3 separate regions of the Homo sapiens genome follow, and all the other regions are linked to region 2. Evidence: promoter capture Hi-C in 16 types of primary human blood cells and fetal thymus (Javierre and others, 2016). All regions are on one chromosome and are shown on one strand. The core of a region is centred on a gene start or on the middle of the fragment in contact, and the rest is flanking DNA. Distances in the headings are between cores, read along the strand shown. Region 1 overlaps ETFB (electron transfer flavoprotein subunit beta). Region 2 holds the start of ZNF428 (zinc finger protein 428). Region 3 holds the start of IGFLR1 (IGF like family receptor 1).

What was found. The method cuts DNA at HindIII sites, captures the fragments that hold promoters and counts their contacts. A CHiCAGO score of 5 or more calls a contact.
Region 1: a fragment that was not itself captured here is called in contact with the fragment with the promoter of ZNF428 in region 2 in 1 of 17 cell types (total CD4 T cells); the score reaches 7.8 in total CD4 T cells.
Region 3: the fragment with the promoter of IGFLR1 here is called in contact with the fragment with the promoter of ZNF428 in region 2 in 1 of 17 cell types (naive CD8 T cells); the score reaches 12.7 in naive CD8 T cells.

What each region holds. Positions count from the first base shown.
Region 1 is chr19:51,357,571-51,360,898 of GRCh38, forward strand. All of the region lies in intron 1 of ETFB (electron transfer flavoprotein subunit beta), which reads right to left. Among named protein-coding and RNA genes, the nearest start is that of ETFB, 7.2 kb to the right of the region's middle. The HindIII fragment of the contact is 200 bases long and covers 1,874-2,073 here.
Region 2 is chr19:43,618,124-43,621,239 of GRCh38, forward strand. ZNF428 (zinc finger protein 428) reads right to left here and starts at 1,506. Exons shown (of 3, transcript NM_182498.4): 1 at 1,435-1,506. It overlaps LOC105372411 (a long non-coding RNA gene), which reads left to right and starts at 938. Exons shown (of 4, transcript XR_001753942.2): 1 at 938-1,509. RefSeq lists an enhancer at 865-1,515 and a silencer at 1,320-1,559. The HindIII fragment of the contact is 4,307 bases long and covers 1-3,116 here.
Region 3 is chr19:35,741,202-35,744,399 of GRCh38, forward strand. IGFLR1 (IGF like family receptor 1) reads right to left here and starts at 1,251. Exons shown (of 5, transcript NM_024660.4): 1 at 1,195-1,251; 2 at 1-22. It overlaps U2AF1L4 (U2 small nuclear RNA auxiliary factor 1 like 4), which reads right to left. Exons shown (of 6, transcript NM_001040425.3): 3 at 3,122-3,198; 4 at 2,811-2,944; 5 at 2,608-2,703; 6 at 1,326-1,602. The coding sequence ends at 1,518. RefSeq lists an enhancer at 1,004-1,433 and a silencer at 2,769-2,929. The HindIII fragment of the contact is 10,043 bases long and covers 1-3,198 here.

The DNA.
Region 1 (3,328 bases), core at 724-3,223, 7.7 Mb after region 2:
CCTCTGCCTCCCCAGTTCAAGCGATTCTCCTGCCTCAGCCTCCTGAGTAGCTGTGATTACAGGTGCCCACCACCACGCCCAGCTAATTTTTTGTATTTTTAATAGAGACAGGGTTTCACTATGTTGGCCAGGCTGGTCTCGAACTCCCGATCTCTGGTGATCCACCCACCTCGGCCTCTCAAAGGCAGGGGATTACAGGCGTGAGCCACCGCTCCTGGCCCAACCTGAGTTTTTATAAGGTCATTCTGGATTCTTGGTGGAGAAAATTGGAAAAGGATGAGAGGAAGTGGGGAGAGAGCTGGGTGGCTGTTTGTCACCAAAGTGAGAGGTGACAGTGGCTCAGACAGCTGTGACAGCAGAGACAGATGCAAGAGGTTTCTGGAGGTGCAACTGACAGGCCATGGTTCGTGATGGGAAGATGACACCAAAAAGGGGCTTCCAGTCAGTACATCAGCCAGAGCCGGGAAGACGGCGAGTTTGGTTTGGGGCACAAATTTTTAAAAAGCCTCCAGGGACATCCACAGAAGCCTTGCTAGGGAGCTGCCCCATTTGGCCTGGAGCCTGCCCTCTTCCTCTTCTCCCATGTGGCCGCCACCCAGGGCTTGGCCAGAGCAGATCTCGGGTGGCAGCTGAGCCTGGTGAGGACACTGGGATGCTCTTGCTATTTCCCTGCCCCTTTTTCTCTGGGGCTGTGGGTGTAACTGTTCCTCCCACAGGCAGGACAGAATCCGAGATGAGAAGGTGGGACCCATAAGGGGCTTCCCACTCTGGCTGTGCCTCATGGAGAGGGTAACATTAAAAGATGGAGGACTGAGACCGGGCGCAGTGGCTCCTGTCTGTAATCCCAGAAATTTGGGAGGCCAAGGTGGGAGGATCACTTGTGCCCAGGAGTTGGATACTAGCCTGGGCAACAGGTTCTACAAACAACAACAACAAAAACAAAAACAGCTGGGCGTGGTGGCTCATGCCTGTAATCCCAGCACTTTGGGAGGCCAAGGTGGGCGGATCACCTGAGGTCAAGAGTTCAAGACCAGCCTGGCCAACATGGCAAAACCCCATCTCTACTAAAAATAAAAATAAAATAAAAAATTAGCCGGGCATGGTAGTGCACGCCTGTAATTGCAGCTACTCAGAGGCTGGGGCAGGGAGAATTGCTTGAACCCAGGAGGTGGAGGTTGTAATGAGCCAAGATTGCGCCACGGCACTCCAGCCTGGGCGACAGAGCAAGACTCCGCCTCAAAACAAACAAACAAACAACAACAAAAAAAAAAAAAAAAAAACAGCCAGGTATGGTGGCACACACCTGTAGTCCCAGCTACTCAGGAGGCTGAGGCGGGAGGATCACCTGAGCCCAGGAGGTCAAGGGTGCAGTGAGCCGTGATCATGCCACTACATGTAACCTGGGTGACAGAGCAAGACCTCATCTCAAAAAAGAAAAAGAAAAAGAAAAAGGAGAAAGAGGAGAAGGAGCTGGAAGAGGAGAGGAAAGAGAAAGAACTGTTATTTTCATCTCTCTCGTTGCCCAGGCTGGAGTGCAGAGGTGCCACCTTGCCTTACTGCAACCTCCACCTCCCGGGCTCAGGTGATCCTCCCACTTCAGCCTCCCCAGTAGCTGGGACCACAGGCGGGCACCATCATGCCGGGCTAATTTTTTTTTTTTTACTTTTTGTAGAGAAAGGATTTCCCCGTGTTTCCCAGGCTGGTCTGGAACTCCTGGCCTAAAGTGATCCGCCTGCTTCAGCCTACCAAAGTGATGGGATTACAGGTGTGAGTCGCAGTGCCTGGCCTTTTTTCTTAAAAAAAAAAACACAACATAGGAGTTGCCCCTTTAAGACAGAAAAGAACCTCATCCACCCATCAGTAAGAGGCCCCAAGCTTCTTGCTGTGAGTCAGGGAGGCTTCTGAAGGGCCTCAAGCCACATCTTGCTCTTGCTCTGGCAGAACTCCCAGCCCTAAGCTCCTGATTCCCAGGCTCCTGACTCCTGAGGAGAAAGGGTAAGAACTTTCCAGACACACACACACACACGCACGCACACACACCTGAGGAAACAAACTAGCTCATCTTCTCAATTAAGCTTGAGTTGATTTTAAGCTTCAAAAACAGTTTAGTTATATTACATAAGTCAGGAAACAATGGTAGGGCTGAAAAATGATAGCTTGTTTGTTTTTTAAATAATGATGGCTCATGCCTGTAATCCCAGCACCTTAGGAGACTGAGGAAGGAGGATCACTGGAGCCCAGGATTTCAAGACCAGCCTGGGCAACATAGAGAGACTTCATCTCTACCAAAAAACAAAATTAGCAGGTCATGGTGGCGTGCACCTGTAGTCCCAGCTACTGAGGAGGCTGAGGTGGGAGGACGGCTTGAACCCAGGAGGGTCGAGGCTGCAGCGAGCTGTGACTGTACCACTCTAGCCTGGGTGACAGAGCTAGACCTTGTCTCAAAAAGAAAAAAAAAAAGTTTTATAATTGAGGTAAATCATTCAGCATTAAGTGCTGGCTTTCTCTTAAAGAGACGACATATCCACCAATATCAAAAACAGCCTCAAAGCTGGGCGTGGCGGCTCACACCTGTAATCCCAGCACTTTGTGGGGCTGAGGTGGGTGGATCACTTGTGGTCAGGAGTTCGAGACCAGCCTGGCCAACATGGTAAAACCCCATCTCTACTAAAAATACAAAAATTAGTCGAGCGTTTTAGCACATGCCTGTAATTCCAGCTAGTTGGGAGGCTGAGGGAGGAGAATCACTTGAACCCGGGAGGTGGAGGTTGCAGTGAGCAGGGATCACATCAATGCACTCCAGCCTGGGTGACAGACCAGATTCTATCTCAAAAAAAAAAAAAGAAAAGAAAAAAAAAATTTTTTTAAAAGCAGCACTGACCCATGCAGACAACGAGTCAAGGGTTTTATATGCATTAACTCGTTTGACCATCCTAGTAGCCTGTGAGGTTGGTTACTGCCATTACCTCTCATTTTACAGATGAGGCAACTGAGGCACAGAGAGGCCAAGTACCTTGGCCAGGGCCACTGAGCATGGAAGTGGCAGGACCACGGGTCTAACCCCAAATCTGTCTTGGGAACTGTGAGACTCTGAAAGAGGCTACGTGTGCCCACGGTGTTAGGAGAGCCAGTCTTCCTATTTGTTGTCCACTGCAGGCAAGAGGGATTTTCTTCTCTTCTCTTTTCTTTCTCTCTTTCTCTCTCTCTCTCTCTCTCTCTTTCTCTTTCTTTTTGATACAGAGTCTTGTTCTGTTGCCCAGGCTGGGGTGCAGTAGTATGATCTTGGCTCACTGCAAACTCCACCTTCTGGGTTCAAGCGATTCTCCTG
Region 2 (3,116 bases), core at 256-2,755:
TCCTGGGTTCACGCCATTCTCCTGCCTCAGCCTTCCGAGTAGCTGGGACTACAGGCGCCTGCCACCACGCCCGACTATTTTTTGTATTTTTAGTAGAGATGGGGTTTCACCGTGTTAGCCAGGATGATCTCGATCTCCTGACCTCGTGATCCACCCGCCTCGGCCTCCCAAAGTGCTGGGATTACAGGCGTGAGCCACCGCGCCCAGCCTACTTATTTATATTTTTTAAGAGACAGGGTCTCGCTCAGTTGCCCAGGCTGGAGTGCAGTAGGGTGATCTGTAGGAAAGGGGCTTCCAGGCCTTAACTCATGTACTCCCCCATAACCAGGTTGGGAGGTTAGCTCACTGTAACCTCAAACTCCTGTGCTCAAGGTACCCTACTAGCCCCTAGGAGAGCAGCTGGGACTACAGGTATGCGCCACCATGCCAGGCTTAATTTTTACTTTTTTTTTTTTTTTTTTTTTTTGTAGAGACGGGGGTCTCACTATATTGCCCAGGCTGGTCTTGAACTCCTGGTCTCAAGCGATCCTCCTGCCTTAGCCTCCCAAAGTATTGGTATCACTGCAACTAGCCCAAAGAATTAATATAGCTATGTTCCATGTGATATTTGGGACATACTTTTCTAAAAGGTTGTATCTTTTGGATATAATTGTTTATCTGAAATTCAAATTTAACTAGACATTGTATATTTTATACGGCAACCACACACCTGGGACAATCAAGACATTCCCTGAAGTTACCAGGAGACAATGCCCATCAGCCTACACTTTTCCAAGCCCACGTCACACAAGGCCCCTTCCAGAGTATTCCAGACGTCAGGTAGGGCCATCCCTTGGTTCACAAGTCCCACTCCTACCACGCCTATGGCAGCCAAACTGAAAGGCAAACACAGTGCTGGAGACCCCACAATGCCCTGGGCCTATAGCAGTCAATTCCCAAGATGCCCCGCGTGAACACAATAGGCACCCGTTCCAATGCTCGAGCAAAGAGACCAGGGCAAAACCTTCCACTACGGGACAATAACGGCCAGTTCCCACAATTCGTTGTGGCAGTTCTTCCCAGGATGCCTTAGGCCTATAGCGACCACCTTCCCAGACTCCCCGTGTGGAAGCGCTCCAAGCCTCCAGGACGGTCAGCGGCAGGTGTGGGATAAAAGGAACCGGTCTCGACAAGGATCTGGGACACTCTTTCCCAGGATGCACCAGGCCTACGACTAGCGGACCGACTCCCACAGCGCTTCAAGGCGGAGCGCTCGGTTCTCCCAGGATGCCCCAGGGCGGCACAAACGCGTAGGGGGAGAAAAAGAAGCCCTCGGGTCACCACGGCCCCAGACCGCCGGCTCCCCGGTGACGGGAGTCGTCGCTCCCATCATGCAGCGGGGCCGTAGCGCCCGCTTCCCGGCATGCCTCGCGCACCCCTGCCCGGGACACTCACCGGCGCCGGCGGCCCCCGCTCCGGCTCTGCGGCGGCGGCTGCACGCCCAGCCTCTGCGCCTGCGTCGCAAGTAGGGTAGGACAGCGCGCAGGGGGCGTGAAGAGCCTAGGGCGCTTGCGCGGCGAGACGGACTAGTCCTGTAGCGCTGTGGGAAGAGGGGCTATGCGCGTCGGGCCGTCGACGAGACCCGCGCGGGGGGCGCCGTGCTTTGCCCCTCGCTGCCTGGGTTTACTTGGTACAGCCCGCGGCCCAAAGGAACAAGAAGCTGAAGGGTTCGCGCGTGCGTGTGCGGGGCAGGAACGCGCCTTACAAAACTGGGATGCGCTGGGGGTGGAGGGCGCTAGTTCGGACTGGATCCTGGGCCCGAGGCCTGCTTATTTGCATAATCCTAGCGCGGGACAATGAAAGGCCTCCCGCACTGGAAGGAGTGATTTGCATATTCCCCGGAGGGGCCTTACTCCAGAGCGCAGTGATTAGCATATGGCGGGGGCAACCTGAGCAAAGCGCATGCGCGCAGGGACTGCAGACTGACGCGAAGTGGGTAGCCTTGTCTTCGTAGGGGATCAGTTTGCATCCTGAGAGAGGGCACGAGGGCCAGGACCCCTCCCAACCAGGATAAAGGTTTATTGATCTCCTAGGTGTCAGGCCCCATGCTGGCGGATTCTGTGGTTTCTGCAGTGAACCATACTCCTGTACTCACGGCACCCCAGTCGAAGGAGATACGCACCTAATTAGACAACTACTACCCAGAAGGTCAGACCTGGAGTGAGGAACACAGGGGGCTGTGGGAGCCTAAGAGGCGCTTGCCCCGGCCTCTGGTTCTAGAAAGACTTCCAGGAGGTGGTGATCCTTAAGCCAAGTACGAATAGGAGCCAACTAGAATGGGAATGGGTCTGGCAGAATGAACTGCAAGCGCCAAGGCCCAGAGGCCAAAAAAAAAAAAAAAAAAATAGAAGCGCATGTTTTGATTGAGGAAGCAAGAGCAGCTTAGTATGCCTAGAACCTAACTGGAGACGGGAAATGGTTCTATAGACGATGTTAGAGTTCAACTATGGCTACATTCCAGTCTTCCTGTAAGTGACTTTGTCACATTCTGGCTTAAAACTCCCCCAAAGGGATCCCATTAGGAAAAAAAAAAAATCCAAAAATCTTTATCATGGCCTCAGGGCTATACACCTGGTCTGGCCGTGCTTATCTTTCTGACCCCACCTACTTCCTCCTCCCTCCATTTCTGTCCAGCTCCACCTTACCCCAAACTCTTTACCAGCTCGGGCCTCTGCTCTTGCCGTTCCCTCCGCCTGAAAATGCTTTTCCCTCTGACCTTTGAATACCTACTCTTGTGCTCACCATTCATATCTTGGTACAGATGTCAATCTGAGAGGCTTTTCCTGATCTCTCCATAATAGCACTTACACATTTGACTGGAGTTATGGATAAATCGGGATTGGCCATGAGTTGGTGGTGGTTGTAACTGGCATGAAGAGTACATGGGGCTGGGCGCGGTGGCTCACGCCCGTAATCCCAGCACTTTGGGAGGCCGAGGCTGGTGTATCACCTGAGGTCAGGAGCTTGAGACCAGCCTGGGCAACATGGTGAAACCCTGCCTCTATTAAAACTACAAAAATTAGCCAGGGGTTATGGGGGGTGCCTGTAATCCTTGCTACTTGGGAGGCTGAGGCACG
Region 3 (3,198 bases), core at 1-2,500, 7.9 Mb before region 2:
ACTTCCAAACACAGCGCCTCTGCTACACTTTCCGGGGAAATCGGGCAGAAGAAAGGACGCGGTGATGTGGGGGAACAGAATTCTCACGCCTCTTCGGAAGCCGGGAATCTACCCCCGAGCCCTCATCCCCCAACTGAGCCGGTTATCAGAGAAGCCCACAAGGCCACTAGGGGACTAACAGGGCTGCGGATCTAGATTGCAAGAATGCATATCCCACCTCTGCCGTGTCCTCACCCACCCACCCTCCCTTTTCCATCCCTAAAATAAGACAATGATAGCACCTGTCTCATAGGGTTATTGTGGAGAATTAGAACCGTCATTAGAAGTAAAGCAGGGGCTGGGTGTGGTGGCTCATGCCTGTAATCCCAACACTTTGGGAGGCCAAGACAGGAGGATCACTTGAGCCCAGGAGTTCGAGAGATCAGCCTGGACAACAAAATGAAACCCCATCTTTACAAAAAAAAAAAAAAAAAAAAAAAACAGCAAAGCACTTTGCCAAGTGCAGTGGCTCACGTCTGTAGTCCCTGCTACTAGGGAGGCCAAGGTAGGAGGATTGCTTGAGCCATGAATTACAGACCAGCCTGGGCAACACAGCAAGACCTCATCTCTAAAAACAAAAAAAACTGGCCGCCGGGCGCAGTGGCTCATGCCTGTAATCCCAACACTTTGGGAGGCCCAGGTGGGTGGATCACCTGAGGTCAGTAGTTCAAAACCAGCCTGGCCTACATGGTGAAACCCTGTCTCTATTAAAAATACAAAATTAGCCGGGCGTGGTAGCGCATGCCTGTAAATCCCAGCTACTTGGGAGGCTGAGGCAGAATTGCTTGAACCTGGGAAGTGGAGGCTGCAGTGAGCTGAGATCGTGCCATTGCACTCCAGCCTGGGCAACAGGAATGAAACTCCTTAAAAAAAACAAAAACAAACTAAAGTGCTGAAAACAGCACCTCACATACAGTAAACTCAGTGTTTAAGTGTAAGGCATTACTAACTCCCATCACAATTCGGCAGGCACGGAGGAGTCAGCCCCATACTGGCTGGAGACCACCTCCCAGCACCTCACCTCACCTTTGAATCCTAATCTCCTTGGGGCTAGGGCTCCTCCCACCTGCCACAACCAGGTCTCTCCCCCTTGAATAAGCCTCAGATGGAGGTGCTAAGGTTTTCAGCACAAAGGTGTCCCCACCCTACCAGTACCGTTAGGGTCCTGGGTCCCAAGCTGGCCGTGCCAAGTTCCTCAGCTGAAGTTGTGGCCAGGACCCAGTCTTGTTTCCCCTTTTCGTCACATGTGTGGGTGGAGGGAAATGCCAAACCACAGCAAAAGCAAGTTGATGCCGAAGTGAAACACGCAGCTTTATTAAGACAGGGGCGGTAGAAGAAGGTCTCCATGCTGAACAGATTACATTATGGAGCCCGGGAGCCTGGGAAGGATGGGGCAGGAGAGTGAAGGGGGCTTTGAGGAGAGGTCCTGCCAGGAACATCTGTCCCTGTTGGGGGTGAAGGGTAAGGGGGCCAGGGCCTCAGAAGCGGCCATGCCAGTGATCAGGGGAACACCGATGGTTCCTCTCTCGGGGATGGTGGCCAGTATGGAACCTCGGGGGTGACCTGGGAATAGGAGCGTTGAGAGTTCTGTTAGAACCCTGAGGAGTGGTGCAGAGATCCTGCAGGCCTGCCTCTCTGCTCTGGGATGAGGCAGGAGGGTGCTGAAATAACTAGAGTTCTAAGACACGACCTCAGTGGCCAGTATCAGGGGAACTCAGTGGCCAGTATCAGGGGTGGCAATCCAGGCTGGTCGTGGATTAGGGGTTCAGGCTGGTTTGGGGATTGGGACTTAGGTACTGGTCTCCAGATGGAGCTCAGAACTACTCTTAGGGTATAAGAGTCTTGGGAATGACCGGGCGCAGTGGTTCACGCCTGTAATCCCCACACTTTGGGAGGCCGAGATGGGTGGATTACCTGAGGTCCGGAGTTCGAGACCAGGCTGGCCAACGTGGTGAAACCCCATCTCTACTAAAAATACAAAAATTAGCCAGGCATGGTGGCAGGTGCCTATAATCCCAGCTACTTGGGAGGCTGAGAAAGGAGAATTGCTTGAACCTGGGAGGCAGAGGTTGCACTGAGCCAAGACTGCGCCTTTGCACTCCAGCCTGCGGAAGAAGAGCAAAACTCCGTCTCAAAAAAAAAAAAAAAAAAAAAAAAAAAAAACAGTCAGCCGGGAGTGGTGGCTCACGCCTGTAATCCCAGCACTTTGGGAGGGTGAGGCAGGTGGATCACGAGGTTAGGAGTTCAGACCAGCCTGGCCAAGATGGTGAAACCCCATCTCTACTAAAAACACAAAAATTAGCCGGGCATGGTGGCAGGTGCCTGTAATCCCAGCTATTTGGGAGGCTGAGGCAGAGAATTGCTTGAACCCGGGAGGCGGAAGTTGCCATGAACCAAGATGGTGCCAATGCACTCCAGCCTGGGCAACAGAGTGAGGCTCCATCTCAAAAAAAAAAAAAAAAAAAAAAGATTCTTGGGAACGTGGTTACTGGGGCTTAGGGTTAGGCTCATCTGAGGATATAGGGGCCTTAGGACATGAGGAGACATAGCAGGCTGGTCCTGAGGTACCTGCGCCTGGGTCCCCGCCCATAGAGCTGCCTCTGGAGGTTCTGGGAAATGGGCCGCAGATGCATGAAGTTGCAGAAGCCACCTCGGGTACATTCCCTGCATAGAGGGTAGAGAGATGGAGGAAGCCATTGTCACTGACAGCCCCTACCACGCATTCAAAGTCTGGGATTCCAAGTGCCCATCCCACCCTTGAACTACCATACCCCATCTCATACTGGCGACAGCATGACTCCCGGAAGTCAGTGACAGGAGACAGCTCACCGTGCACAGCCTGCCCGTTGAACCAGCGGTTACTGAGTTCAGCCACGGCCCGCTCTCCATCCTCCTCCCTCCGGAACTGCAGGAAATGTCAGTCAGGGTCAGCAGGAGAACTCAGAGATCTTCAGGGGACTCACTACCCGCTCTGGGGCTGGACTGGATTTAGTGATGAAATTCAAGCTGAGAGCCTACAGTGGCCACCATCAGGCATTGAAACGCCTCCACTTCTGGGCCCTAAGTGGGGGGCAGCAAGCACCTTGACATAGACGTTGCCCACGAGGTGGTCCCCAAGGTTGTCGCACACATTCATCTCTTCAATCTCCCCATACTTCT